Linked DNA regions of Homo sapiens: regions 1 and 3 are each linked to region 2. Evidence: promoter capture Hi-C in human tissues and cell types (Jung and others, 2019). All regions are on one chromosome and are shown on one strand. Each heading gives the region's core, a stretch centred on a gene start or on the middle of the fragment in contact. The rest is flanking DNA. Distances are from core to core; before and after follow the strand shown.

Region 1 (3,777 bases), core at 922-3,421, 130 kb before region 2:
TGTGCAACTGTGTGTGTGTGTGTGCAGCTGTGTGTGTGTATGTGTGCGTGCAGCTCTGTGTGTGTGTCGGGGGCGGTTACTGAGGTAATTCCTCATCCTAGATAGGAAGTTCAGTGAGTGCAACATTGAAATGCTAAGAGATGGCAGTACATGGCTGTTTATTTAGAAATGTGGAGCTCAGTAGGAAACAATCTGCAAAGCTGGAAGTGTTGCTTCTGGGGAGTGAGCACTGCAGGTGCAGTGGGGGCCAGGTTTTACATGTGCTGCTTTGAGAAACATTAAAAGGATAACTGATATCCCCCAAAAAGCACCGCAGTATGAACACACACACACAAACACACACATAAACACACGCATAAACATACATGCATAAACACACACATAAATACACGTAAACACACATACGTAAACACACGCACACACACAAACCCATAAACATACGCATAAACACATACACACATAAGCACATAAACACACATACACACATACACCCATACAAACACATAAACACACAAACACACATATACACATAAACACATACGTATACACACATAAACACATACATATACACATGAACACACACACACTCTGTCTCCCCTGTGTGTAGCCTGAAACGTCAAAGAATCGGCCGAGAGAAAAGGTGAGCCCCCTAGAGTGGAGAATTGACGGGCCATGTTGCAGGAGGAGCCTGGCTGATCTGAAGTTCCTCATTCCCGCCCTGGTCTGGGTGTGCTTGCCGTCATTTCTGAGGCATGTGCTTTTGGCTGGAGCCCCAGGTACAGCTCAGCTGTGCTCAGATTAACAGCGTCCATCAGATGGAAGTAGATTTTCCTCCCTGTGTGCTTCTGATAACACAGGCTGGATGTGTTCTGGGGAAGGATGAACCAAATGCATACAGCTTTTCTTATGATGAGAGGAAACAGGGAAAAACATGCACGATGCAAATGCAATATTATTTATGATCCGTTGGAACATTATTTCCCTAGCGTGAGCCCTGTTAAACACAGCCTTACTGTGCCTCAGGCAACGAGGCACATATGGCTGTAAACTCCTATTACAACTGAGAGCAGAATTGAGGTCTGATCCGATCATCGCCCTGCTGCTGGGGAAGTTTAATGATAGCTAGAGATGCTTAGTGTCTAATTTGTTTTGTCAGAATTGTGGTTCCCAAGGTCACGAATGCTGCAGCATTGCAGCCTGCAGAATATGGCGTGTCACGTGGCATGACAGATCATGAGAGCAGCTATGTTCCATCTGAGAAAGACCGTCTTATGCCAAGCTTTGTTTTCAGTGGCTTTAGTTCAAGGACAGTTGGTGCAATAGCAGGGCTGGAAGTGGTCTTGTAGCTCACTGAGTAATATCCCCTCACTTGGTGGAAACGTGGAGTCCTGGGGTCGTTGTGACTTGCTCCACGTCAGTCCATTATTGATGTTTCAGAAACACTTTCTACTGGGTGTCCATTGTGTCCCAGACTGGAAGTTATGTCCAGTGCCAAGGTCCAGGGAGAGTGGTGCCCAGCCCAGCCCAGGGAGCCCCTCTCTGGAGGATTGGTGGGTTGGGGGTTCCGATGGAGGCTGGAGGTGCTGGAACCAGGCTCAGACTCACAAGGAGGGGCAGGATGGTGCTCTGGGAAGTCTTCCTGGAGGAGCTGATCTTGACTAAGTCTTGAAGGACTAGGAACCACTGGGAAGGGTGGCTCAGCCTTTCAGACCGAGGGGCAGCCTGTGCGCAGAGGTGCAGTGCATGTACAGAGCTCTCAGCAAGGTGCCCAGAGGATGGTGCTGCCGTGTCGCAGCCAGGGGCCCCTCGTGCAGGGCTTTTATGCCAATGCAGAGGATAACCCTTGGGGTCACTCTTCCACTGTCCTCATGGGTAGCATCCGGCTTCCTTCTCTCCATACGAATCTCCCTTATCCTTAAGGTAATGTGGGAACCCTTGGTGGAACTTGGTAGAACTTGGGCATTCGGGTCTTTGGGTCACAGTTGGGTTGGTTTTCAGCAGCATGACTGTGGAGAATGTTGTGGAGAGCCTGGAGTGGGGAGAGAAGCCTGGAAAAGAGGCCTGCAGTCATCCAGAAGAGGGAGGAGGATGGGGGTGAAGAGGAGGTGAGTTGGAAGCTATTGAGAGATTCAGTGGTTGAATGGAGGGGTCGGGGAGGGTGGTGGTCTATGGTAACTCCTGAAGCTCTCCCTGGTTGGAGGTCCATGCCCTCCCAGGCTGGGGCTGCACACTGCTGCTGGATCTACAGTACCGGAGTCTTGTGGGCACTCCTGCCCTCAGAACTCCACTGGACATTGCCCTAGTGGGAACTCTCTGAGGTGGCCCCACCTCTGTGTCAGTTCTCTCCGTGGGAGCTGGGGCTCTCCAGGCCATCCTGTGAAATCTGGATGGAGGGAACCATGTCACCACAGCTCCTATAGAGAGGGCACTGCATAGATACTGTCAGAGTTTACTGCTTGTGAGTTCCAGAGGGGTGGGCTGAGCTGCACCTGGGCCTGCTTGAGCCTAGGTGGGCTTGAGCCCAGGTGGGGTGGCCAAGGAGCACTGCATTGGAACATGGGCAGCAGAGCCTTGAAATCATTCTATCCCCAAGGCCCTAGCGCTCTGGACCTGTGACAGGCAGAGCAGCCCTGAGAAGCTCAGAAGTTCCTGGGGTCACTCTTCCACTGTCTTGATGAGCAGCATCCAGCTTCCTTTTCTCCATACCAATCTCCTTATCAGCGGTCGCTTGGCTACACCCTTGATTTTTCTCCTAAACATGCTTTTTTGCTCTGTATGTGGCCAGGCTGAAAATTTTCCAAATCTTTAGGTTCTCTTCCCTTTTGATTATAAATTTCATCTTTAATTCATTTCTCTCTTCTTTCATTTTACTATAAGCAGTCAAGAGAAGCCAGGCTGCACCCTCAACACTTTGCTTAGTTATTTCTTCTGCTGAATACCTTATTTCATTGTTCACAAATTCATCCTTCCACAAAGCACTAGGAATGAACACAATTCAGCCAAGTTCTTTGCCACTTCATAGCAAAGATGGCCTTTCCTCCAGTTTCCAATAACATGTTCCTCTCCTCCTTCTGAAACTGCATCAAAATGGCCTTTACTGCCCATATTTCTACCAACATTCTCATTCTGACCTCTTATCAATCTTGAGGAAGATTGAGGTTTTCTCAGAGGCTCTCTTCTTCTTCTGTGCCTATACCTGAATCATCCTTGCTGTTCTGTTCACAGCAATGTAGGCTTTTTCTAGCATGCACCTCCAAACTCTTCCAGCCTCTACCCATTACCTAGCTCCAAAGAAGCTTTCACATTTTTAGGTATTTGTTATAGCAACATCCCCACTACTGGTACCAATTTCTTTCTTAGTCTCTTCAGGCTGCTATAACAACATACCTTAGATTGGGTAACTTAAAAAAAATAGATATGTAATGCTAACCATTCTAGAGACTGGGAAGTCCAAGATCAAGAGCCACAAAGCTTCAGCATCTGGTGAGGGTCTGTTTCTCATAAAGAGCACCTTCGATGTGCTCTCACATGGTGGAAGGGGTGAATATGTTCTCTTGGGCCTCTTTATAAAAGAGGCACTCCTTATAAAGTGCCTCCTTATAAAGGGCACTGATTCCATTAGTGCTTTGACCTCATGAGTAATCACCTCCCAAAGGCCCTACTTCGTAATACCATAACATTTGGGCTTAAGTTTCACCATGTGGATTTTGGGGGGATACAGACATTCAGACCCTCATAGAAACCTTCCCTGTAGTGTAGCCTTTTCTACACCTGTCC
Region 2 (4,176 bases), core at 295-2,794:
TTTATTTTCCTCCTTCCCTGTGTGCATCCTCCTGAGTCCCACCGGTCAGCGCAGGCCCGAGGGGCAGAAGGCAGAGCGGCAAAGGGCCTCGCCTTTTCTTCCCCGAGCACAGCCGGGATAACCGGATGGTAGGACAAGTCTGGGGTGGGCTGGGGCATGCGTCCCCGGCCTGGCCTGAGTTGGAAGATCGTAGGGAAGGGGATGAGAGTGTGCACTTCCGGGCCCATCTTCCAGCCACCACGTTCCCACCAAAAAAAACTACAGTGGGGGAGACATGGGCTAGGGGCTGGGAAGAGATGCGCCAAGGCGGGGTGGAAGACAGAGAGGGGAGACAGGGAGAGAGGAAGGAGAGAGAGAGACAGAGAAAGAAAGAAGGTCCCTTCTGCGGTCCTAAGAAGTCTGTACCCCCTAGCGAATCAGTCCTGCCGCTGGACTCCTGGCCGCTGCCCGGGCCGGCGTCAGCTTCACACAATGTCGCGTGAGTCTTTGTGCGTGTGCGCGGGGGAGGTTCGAGATGTTTTCCTCCCGGTAAGTTCCCGCGCCAGCACCGCCCCCCAGCTCCGCGGGCCTCCCCGCGGCGAGCCGGGACGCGTGGTCCCCGCGGGCTCACCTGAAGAAGGCCGGTCCGAGTAGCGCGTACAGTAGACCCACGCCGGCCAGAGCATGGGCTGCGCGCCCAGGTTGGCGCCGGCTTGCGAGCTGTCCGAGTCCGAGCTCACCGACAGGTCGCCGCCGCCCAAGCCGCGGGCCTTGAGCGACCCGTCCAGGGGGCCGCCGGGGTCGCCGCCTTTCTTGGCGCCACCGTGCAGCGAGAGCGTCTTGGAGCCGCCTTCCCCGTCACCCGGAGAGTCGCTGCCGGCGGCTGGGAGCGGCCCGCCCGCGCCGGGCGCACATGGCGGGTTCTGCCGGGGCTCTCGGGAGCCCGAGCCCAAGAGCTGCTCCGAGCCGCCCGCGCCGCCGCCTCCCTCCGCACCGCTCGCGCCGCCTTCGCCGCCGGCTCCGCCGCCCCTTCCTCCTCCCGCGCCCGCACAGCAGGTCCCCGCGTCCTTTCGCCGGCCGAACTCGGGCCGCAGGATGTTGTCGATGAAGAAGTTGGTGATGCGGTGCGGGTGCTGGTGGTTGCCGGGCGCCTGCAGGACCGCGGGCAGCATCAGAGCCCGCCGGCGCCCGGTGTCCGCTTCGCCCGGGCTGCTACCGCCGCCGCCGCCCGAGCCGCCGCCGGGGCTGGATTCCGGCTGCCGCTGTCCCTCCACCGCCGCCGCTGCTTCGCCAGGCTTGGGGTCATTCTCCTCCATGCTGTTCACAGTAAATCCCACACTGGTTCTCCGGGGACGCCCTTCCAAATCAGCCTTCGGCCCTCCCGCGGCGCACACGGAGACCCCCGCGCCCCCACCCCGCCGAGTCTTCCGAGGGCGTGCGCGGCGGCCGCGGCCAGGGCTGAGGTCCTACAAGTCGCCGGCCGCGCTCGGCGCGGAGCCACCTTTGAATCCACGAACTGGGTTAGAAACACCACGAGCCGCCCCGCTCGCCCAGACGATGAGAGATTCAACAGAGCCAAGTCCTCGACTTCGCCGCGCAGCCGGGGTCTAGACAGTCGCAGTGGTCCGGCGGGGACGCGGGCCGCCTCCCGGGCTCCCCGCTCCTCTCCGCGTCCGGCCGCCTCGGGCTCCGGCGCCGCCGCCTGGGCCGCCCGGGGCGAGAGCTGCGCGCATGCAGGCAGCGCGTTCCCCGGCGCTCACGCCCGCCCGGGCCGGCTCCGGCCGCCGCCGCCGCCCGGCCGTCCCCGCCCGCACGCCCTAGCCGGCCCTCGAGGGTGCCGGGCGCCCGCGGTCAGCGCGCCCGCCACCGCCCGCACGCACATGGAGGCCCCCTCCTCGCGGCCGCCGCCCCGCTGCGGGCCGGGGCGCCCCACCGGCGTGCGGCCGCGCCCCCGCCGAGCCCCGCAGAGCTCCGCGGCCCGAGTCGCATGGGTGAGAGACGCGAGGCCAGGGCCCGGCCGGGCCGGGCTGGGCCGCCCGCGCTCCCCGGCCGTCCGCCGCCCTCGCCGCCTCGGCCTCCGCGCGGGCTCGGAAATTTCCAGGCCACTCGGCGCAACCTGAGACACTTTCACTCTGGATTTTTGTTCTTATTTTTAACAGAGCCCCCTCGAGTGACGTCGCAGGCCGGTCTCCTGGACACGTGCCTCGGGCCAATGGCCGCGGCGCCGCGCGCCCACGTGACGCTCCGGCCGCCGCTGGGTGACAGGAGCAGCCCGCCGCCCCTCCTCCCCTTAAAGCGGCCGCGTCCCCCGCTCCGGGTGCGGGAGCCCAGGAACCCGGAGAGACCCCCGACCGCGTCTCCTGCGCTCGCCCGCGCTTTCCCTGTCGCTTCGCGGTTCAGGGGTGTGAGTCACCCGGCGACAGCCCCGCCAGGTCACCCCGGGGCGCGTAGGTGGACACGCACAGGAAGATCGCTATTTTTAAGATTTCCATATTGTTTACCGTGGGGCGAAATCCCACAATTCCTTGCACAAAATGCATAAATAATATTAAATGAGCTGCCGAGATACAAAGGGACTTTTGTGGTCCGCTTTCCTTGCTGATGGAGAGGAATAGTGTCACTCCCATTTGACTCGGTAACCCGGCAGCTTCCTGTCTTAAACGCAGAGCTGGCGCGCAGGACACTCCTCCTGCAGACACTTATTGTAAGTGTGCGTGTGTGTGCGTGTGCAGGGAGGCGCGTGCATACGGCCGCATTCCACCCGGGGACAGCGACCCTCATGAAACATGCTTAGCGATCCGAAAGAGCGGGGGAATGCAGTATGCGGCTCCATTTGCGAAGGGAGAAATCCAGGAGCCTCGGAGGTTCTAAAGGAATCCTTTTTGCCAAGGAGAGGAGGGGTGACTGTTCAGCTAAGACTTCAAAACCAAGTCGCCCGCCCCCCTCTAACTTCTCTACTCTGATTGAGGAGCTCCCAGACCGGTCATCTCGTTTTCTTTGTTTTAAAATCCTTTAAACTAATTTTGCCGGAGAGCAGGGCCCATTTGAAACGAGAATTAGGAATCCAACGGCAAGGGTGGGAGCCCCAGTTGGTTTCTCCCCTCCTCTCTCTTCATCTTTTCTAGACTTTCCTTCCAGCTGTTGTCAGAATGTCCAACTGGAAGTTCTGTTTCCTCTTCTCTTCCCCCTCCTCCCTCGGGCTCCTTCCCATTTGCTCTTGTCTACCCACCAAACACCCGTTGTTACCCCAGGCTCGCCTGTCCATCATTTAAAATGCATTTTTATGGAAATGTGTGAATTCCTGGAAACATCCGATAGGGCAGCTCTGGGGGTGCGGGAGCATTTGCACGCCATGAGTACCCTCAGTGCGGGGGAGGCGGGGAGGCCGCAGCCTGGCACGGACACCCTAGGGCTGATTGGCCCTGGGCAGCTGCACCGTGCTCAGCAACCCAGACCCCCGCAGAGGCAGCCAGCAGGTTGCTGCCAGGCCCTGAGTGAACTTGGGGAGTCTGGCAAGCATCTCCGAGGCAGCGTGGCCTGCCAGGCCACCTGGGGCCTGAAGGTTGCACCCTGGCCTTGCGAAGCTCCTTCCCCAGTGTCCATCCCACGTGCTGTCCTTCCCCTGCAGGCTTCAGAGTGCTGGCTGGGCTGGGATGAGAAACGACAGTTCCCACAGCTGCTCCCAGGAAAATTACCCCCCCACCCAGGACGGGAATGGTGGGGGAGGAGGTGCTGGGCTGGCCTCCTGGCCACTGGACGTGGCTCTGGTCAGAGTGTGCCCTCTGTCCGGTGTGTCTAGGGCAGGGTGGGGAAGCCTCTTCTCGCTGGGGCTGGATTCCTCCACTTTTTCTTCATTGGAGGAGTCCTTACCAAATGTTCTGGCTAGGCACACATCTGCCAGGGGTCCTCCCCGAGTCTCAAAAAATCAAACCCCACAGTCTACCTGCCCCCCGGGAAAATAGGGCTGGTGAGAGTTTGTGGGAAGTCTTATTGACGCTTACTTGGTTTTTTGGGGGGAGAATTTTCTGCAACTCTGGAAACTCTGATGATCACCAGTCAGGAAAGGGAGGGTCCAACGACTCTGGGTCTCCTGAACATGATATTGGGGGGAGGAGGGGCCCTGAGCTCTTTGGTTCCTGCAAAACCATCCCAGGTTAATGGCTCCACCTGTCCCATGAAAGCCAATTAGGCGGCTTC
Region 3 (4,139 bases), core at 518-3,017, 81 kb before region 2:
TGAGAAATGAAATTCACGTGCCACGTCTTGCTCGATGTTCATGATAGGCTGGGAGCTCGTGCTCCGCTCGCGGAGGTCTCTGTCTTCAGAACAGCGGGAACGGGGAGGCTCAGCGGGGGAGCACTCACTAAAGTCCAGAGTTCAGAGAGCTGCCTCCTTGGCCTGGGGCTGTTGGGGACAGGTGGGAGACCACCCCTGCTGCCACCGTAGGTGGGATGTCTTCACTCGGTAGCTCCTCACACTGGCACAAAGCCTCGTCTGTTCAGCAAAATGCAGCCAGCATCTCAGCACTGCGGTTATTTCCCTATTATTTATTTATTTTTTAAACAAATTGGATTAATGGCACCTTTCCTAAAACAGGGCAACACAGCACAAGACAATTTGGAGGCAGTTACTTCACATTTGCTTACCTGTCTCCTCTCCCAGTGATGAAAGGCTGGCCTCCCGAATGAGGGTACGCATGCACTGCTGCTCTCAGCGGGGCACCCAGGGTCAGGGAGCTGGAGTCGAGGGGCTCACATTTGCTTTTAGATTTTGAACCTCCGAGCTCCAGTCACTGGATACAGGATGACCAGGGCAAGCCGTGTGTTACCCACAGGGACCCAGGAAACGTGTGTTCACCGAGGGAATTGTAAATGATGAAGCAGAGCTCAGGGGCGTCCTCTGCCTCGGCTGAGTGTGAGAGCAAGGCCTCGCTCTCTGCGAAACTTGGAAAGTTCAAACAGAAAGCACCAACAGCAACAGTGAGGACGAGGCCAATATCCGGTTTGCACCAACACCTCATGCTTCTTTAAGCTTTAAAACACAACTCTGGGAGGTAAACTGGGCCACTGTAATTAGCTTCATTTTAGAAATGCAGATGAGGCCCAGAAAGCTTTAGTGACTCACTTAATTTTGACAAATTAGTATTAATTTAATTTGCTGATAAGTTAATTTAGAAAAATTCCAATACCATTTGCTAGCGCTAAGATGAGGAGAACGAGACCCCAGTGCACGGTGCTTTGGCAAAGCCGAGCACTTGAATTAAAGGACATTGGAAGTCCTTCGAAGCTGTCTCAGAATTCTGGACTTTCTAACCTTGTTTCCTCCTCCAGCCCCCAAGTGCAGAGAGCCTCTCCCTGGAATTTCCTTATCCGACTTAGGAAACTTCTTTCCAAAAGAAATACAATTGTCTTAAGATCTCTTCCCGAGGAATCTGATCAAATAACCAGGAAAGATTTAGCCACCAGAGGAGAGAAAAGCCTAAAGGTCACCCCCACCCCCAGACTTTTCATCTGTTCTTCTGAGGGCAGCTCAAAGTGATGACCCTGGAGGCTTTGTCACATAAGAAGAAAATCTGTGTTCACGGTGCAGTTCTACCCCTCACCTTCCCATAACTTGCTGGTCCTATTCAGTTTCCTAAGAGAATCGTTGACAAGATAATGTCTGCCTCCTGCGTCCATTCCTTTCTCCTAAGAATCACTGACTCTCCCCTAAAATGGCCCACGGGCCCCCACTTCCCTCTCCTCCATGAAAAGGGTATTTAAGTCTCAACCATCTTGCCCTTGTTGGAGTCTCATATTTCATATGGCTCCCATGCTAACACACATGAATGTTTGTCTGCTTTTTTCCCCCCGTTAATCTGTTTTTCAGTCATTTCAGCAAGCCTTCACAGGGAGCAGAAGGGAAGCTTTCCCTCTGCTCCCACACTATTGACAGAGCTACCCCATCCCATTATGTACTATGAAACAACAGGGCACTATAACATCCTGGAGCTGTGCAGTGTGCAACCTGCACAACTGTACATGGACAAAATGAGAGGGCTGGCTATTCTATCAGGCCAGCCAGGAGGTGCAGGGGGATTCAGTCCATCAGCAATTTTCCTACTCGCTAGAGGGCCATGAAATCCGTGTAGTGGCATACAAGAATGTAGAAATATATATTAAATATCAGAGTACATCTTATAGAAAAGGAAAGTATGTTTTGTGACACTTTATATAATGGGTTTTGGTGTAAGAAGTGGGTCATGTCCAAAAAATTGGAAGCCACTATAGCAGATGGCTGTCCTCAGCATGATACGGTAGCCTAAAGATATTTGATTTAGGAAGATTATTAATACCCAAACAATGCCACAACAATTCCTGACTCCTTCTGCAGAAAGAAAATCAGAACATCTCCTCTGAATCCTCATATTACAGCAGTGACAGCTTTGGCTTAGCGGCCTACGCTTTCTATGGACCAAGGGACCGCAGCTGGGCAGGGTGGGGTGGGGAGCGACAAAGAAAGGGGCCCGAAGCTGGCTCCTGGCCCCTGGTGGCAGCAGCCTTGGGGCTCAGATTCCTGCTGATGTGCCCTGGCACTGGTCTCCTTTGGATCAGCATTCCGGGTCTACATGTGGTGTGGACTAGGGGAGGAATTCTTCCCCCATAGGAGCTCACACTCTGACCCAGAGACCTCAGCAGCCGCCAGTGTGAACGCCACGTCTCAGAGAGTGAAGGGTGAGTTGAGTGGGGTGGGCAGGAGGTGAATAGGAGGGGGCGCGAGTCAGCCCATGGCGGTGCTCAGAGCAGAAAAGTGAACAGCTTTGCATGGGGTCTCTTTTTTAACAAGGAGGACATTTGTCCAGGATCTCCCACCCCCAGCCCCCAGAACTCCCCCTCATATCTCATGGGTCAGGAGGGCCTCTAACGCCTGTGGCTAGACCAACTGCGGGGCAAGTGGGGCATTCGCAGACGTCCCTCAGATCAATCCAGACCCAAGCTCAGGGCCTTGTGGGGGCGTGGCCTGTCCTGGGCACGTGAGGAGGGGCAGAGTCTGGGGTTAGCAGGAGGGGGGTGGGAGGGCTCTTTGGTGGATGGTCCCCAGATCTGCCACAGTTCAGGGTCACACGCGGGTGAAGGCGGAGAGCCCAGGAGACAGTGAGACCAGCCTGCAGGGTCCCCAGTGTCTGAAAATGAGGTTGGTGGCAACAGTCCCTAGTACTTACTTGCATTTTCTTGCAAGCACAAGAGGAAGGGATGGTGTGCAGATGGACTGCAGGGCTGGAGGCCACACTTAGCAACCAGGAGTTTCAGGGATCACCCCTAAATTGTTTTGCAAGGGCTGTTGGCCCATGGATGCCACCTTAATAAGAAAATTACTTCAGCAACAATTGAGAAAGATGATGGTGCAAGAAAATGATGTTCACAGGAACCTGTAAATTGCCATGTGAAAAAATCCGAAGGGTATTTTCCTATTATTAAGTGCAAAAAAGAGGTTATTAACCCGCACATACAGATGCCCTCTTACGTGTCTGTGTCTGTTCACTGCAGGAGGGAGCCTCAGGAAATACACTGAGACAATAGTCACAGTTCTTGTATCTGCGTATTACTGCTGAGCTCCTTTCTTTCTTTTTTTGTTTATCTGTTAAAATTTTTTCTATAATAAACATATTACTTGTTAAATTTAAAACATAAAGTTTTGAAGGTTTTTTTTTAGAAATCAAAAGAATTCCATGATAATGTAGAAATTCCTATTCTAAAAAGTAGCATTGTTCTTAAGAAGATGGAACACTATACACAGACACGTGATTTTGTTTCGTATAAAATATTCAACAGAGGCTGGACGCAGTGACTCATGCTTGTAATCCCGGCACTTTGGGAGGCCAAGACGGGTGGATCACCTGAGGTCAGGAGTTTGAGACCAGCCTGGGCAACACGGTGAAACCCCATCTCTACTAAAAATACAAAAAATTAGCGGGGTGTGATGGCACATTCCTGTAGCCCCAGCTACTCAGGAGGCTGAGGCAGGAGAATCACTTGAATCCAGGAGGCGGAGGTTGCAGTGAGCTGAGATCGCACCATTGCACCCCAGCCTGGACGACAAAAGCGAAACTCCGTCTCAAAAAAAAAAAAAAAAGAAAAGAAAAAAAATTCCACAGAAAGCTGTGATGTGGCCCTTCCTTGAATTGTCCAGCTTCATTCCTGGTGGTGTCACTGGCCCTGGAGCAGCCTCAGGAACCGATGCAATCCTCTATTTTTGCTCCATGCATGTGTCCTTTGGTGCTTTAAGAGTCCTCGGAAGGAGAGGCTGGAAGGGAGGTAGCTTCCCCCTTTATCTCTGCTGCTACTCTCTCTTCTTTCCATAACTCTCATTGGCCAAGGACCTGCTCTTCTGAGACA

The links. The method cuts DNA at HindIII sites, captures the fragments that hold promoters and counts their contacts. A contact is called where the count stands out against the background at its distance.
Region 1: a fragment that was not itself captured here is called in contact with the fragment with the promoter of EN2 in region 2 in 2 of the 25 tissues and cell types used here (H1 embryonic stem cells and spleen).
Region 3: a contact is called between a fragment that was not itself captured here and the fragment with the promoter of EN2 in region 2, in 8 of the 25 tissues and cell types used here (H1 embryonic stem cells, heart left ventricle, liver and 5 more).

What each region holds. Positions count from the first base shown.
Region 1 is chr7:155,582,380-155,586,156 of GRCh38, reverse strand. No RefSeq gene overlaps it. Among named protein-coding and RNA genes, the nearest start is that of CNPY1, 38 kb to the right of the region's middle. The HindIII fragment of the contact is 4,336 bases long and covers 4-3,777 here.
Region 2 is chr7:155,455,497-155,459,672 of GRCh38, reverse strand. EN2 (engrailed homeobox 2) reads right to left here and starts at 1,544. Exons shown (of 2, transcript NM_001427.4): 1 at 611-1,544. The coding sequence starts at 1,295. It overlaps EN2-DT (EN2 divergent transcript), which reads left to right and starts at 2,555. Exons shown (of 3, transcript NR_186580.1): 1 at 2,555-2,683. RefSeq lists an enhancer at 1,891-2,882. The HindIII fragment of the contact is 19,554 bases long and covers 1-4,176 here.
Region 3 is chr7:155,537,162-155,541,300 of GRCh38, reverse strand. The region is part of intron 2 of CNPY1 (canopy FGF signaling regulator 1); the gene reads left to right. Among named protein-coding and RNA genes, the nearest start is that of CNPY1, 7.3 kb to the left of the region's middle. The HindIII fragment of the contact is 3,908 bases long and covers 1-3,721 here.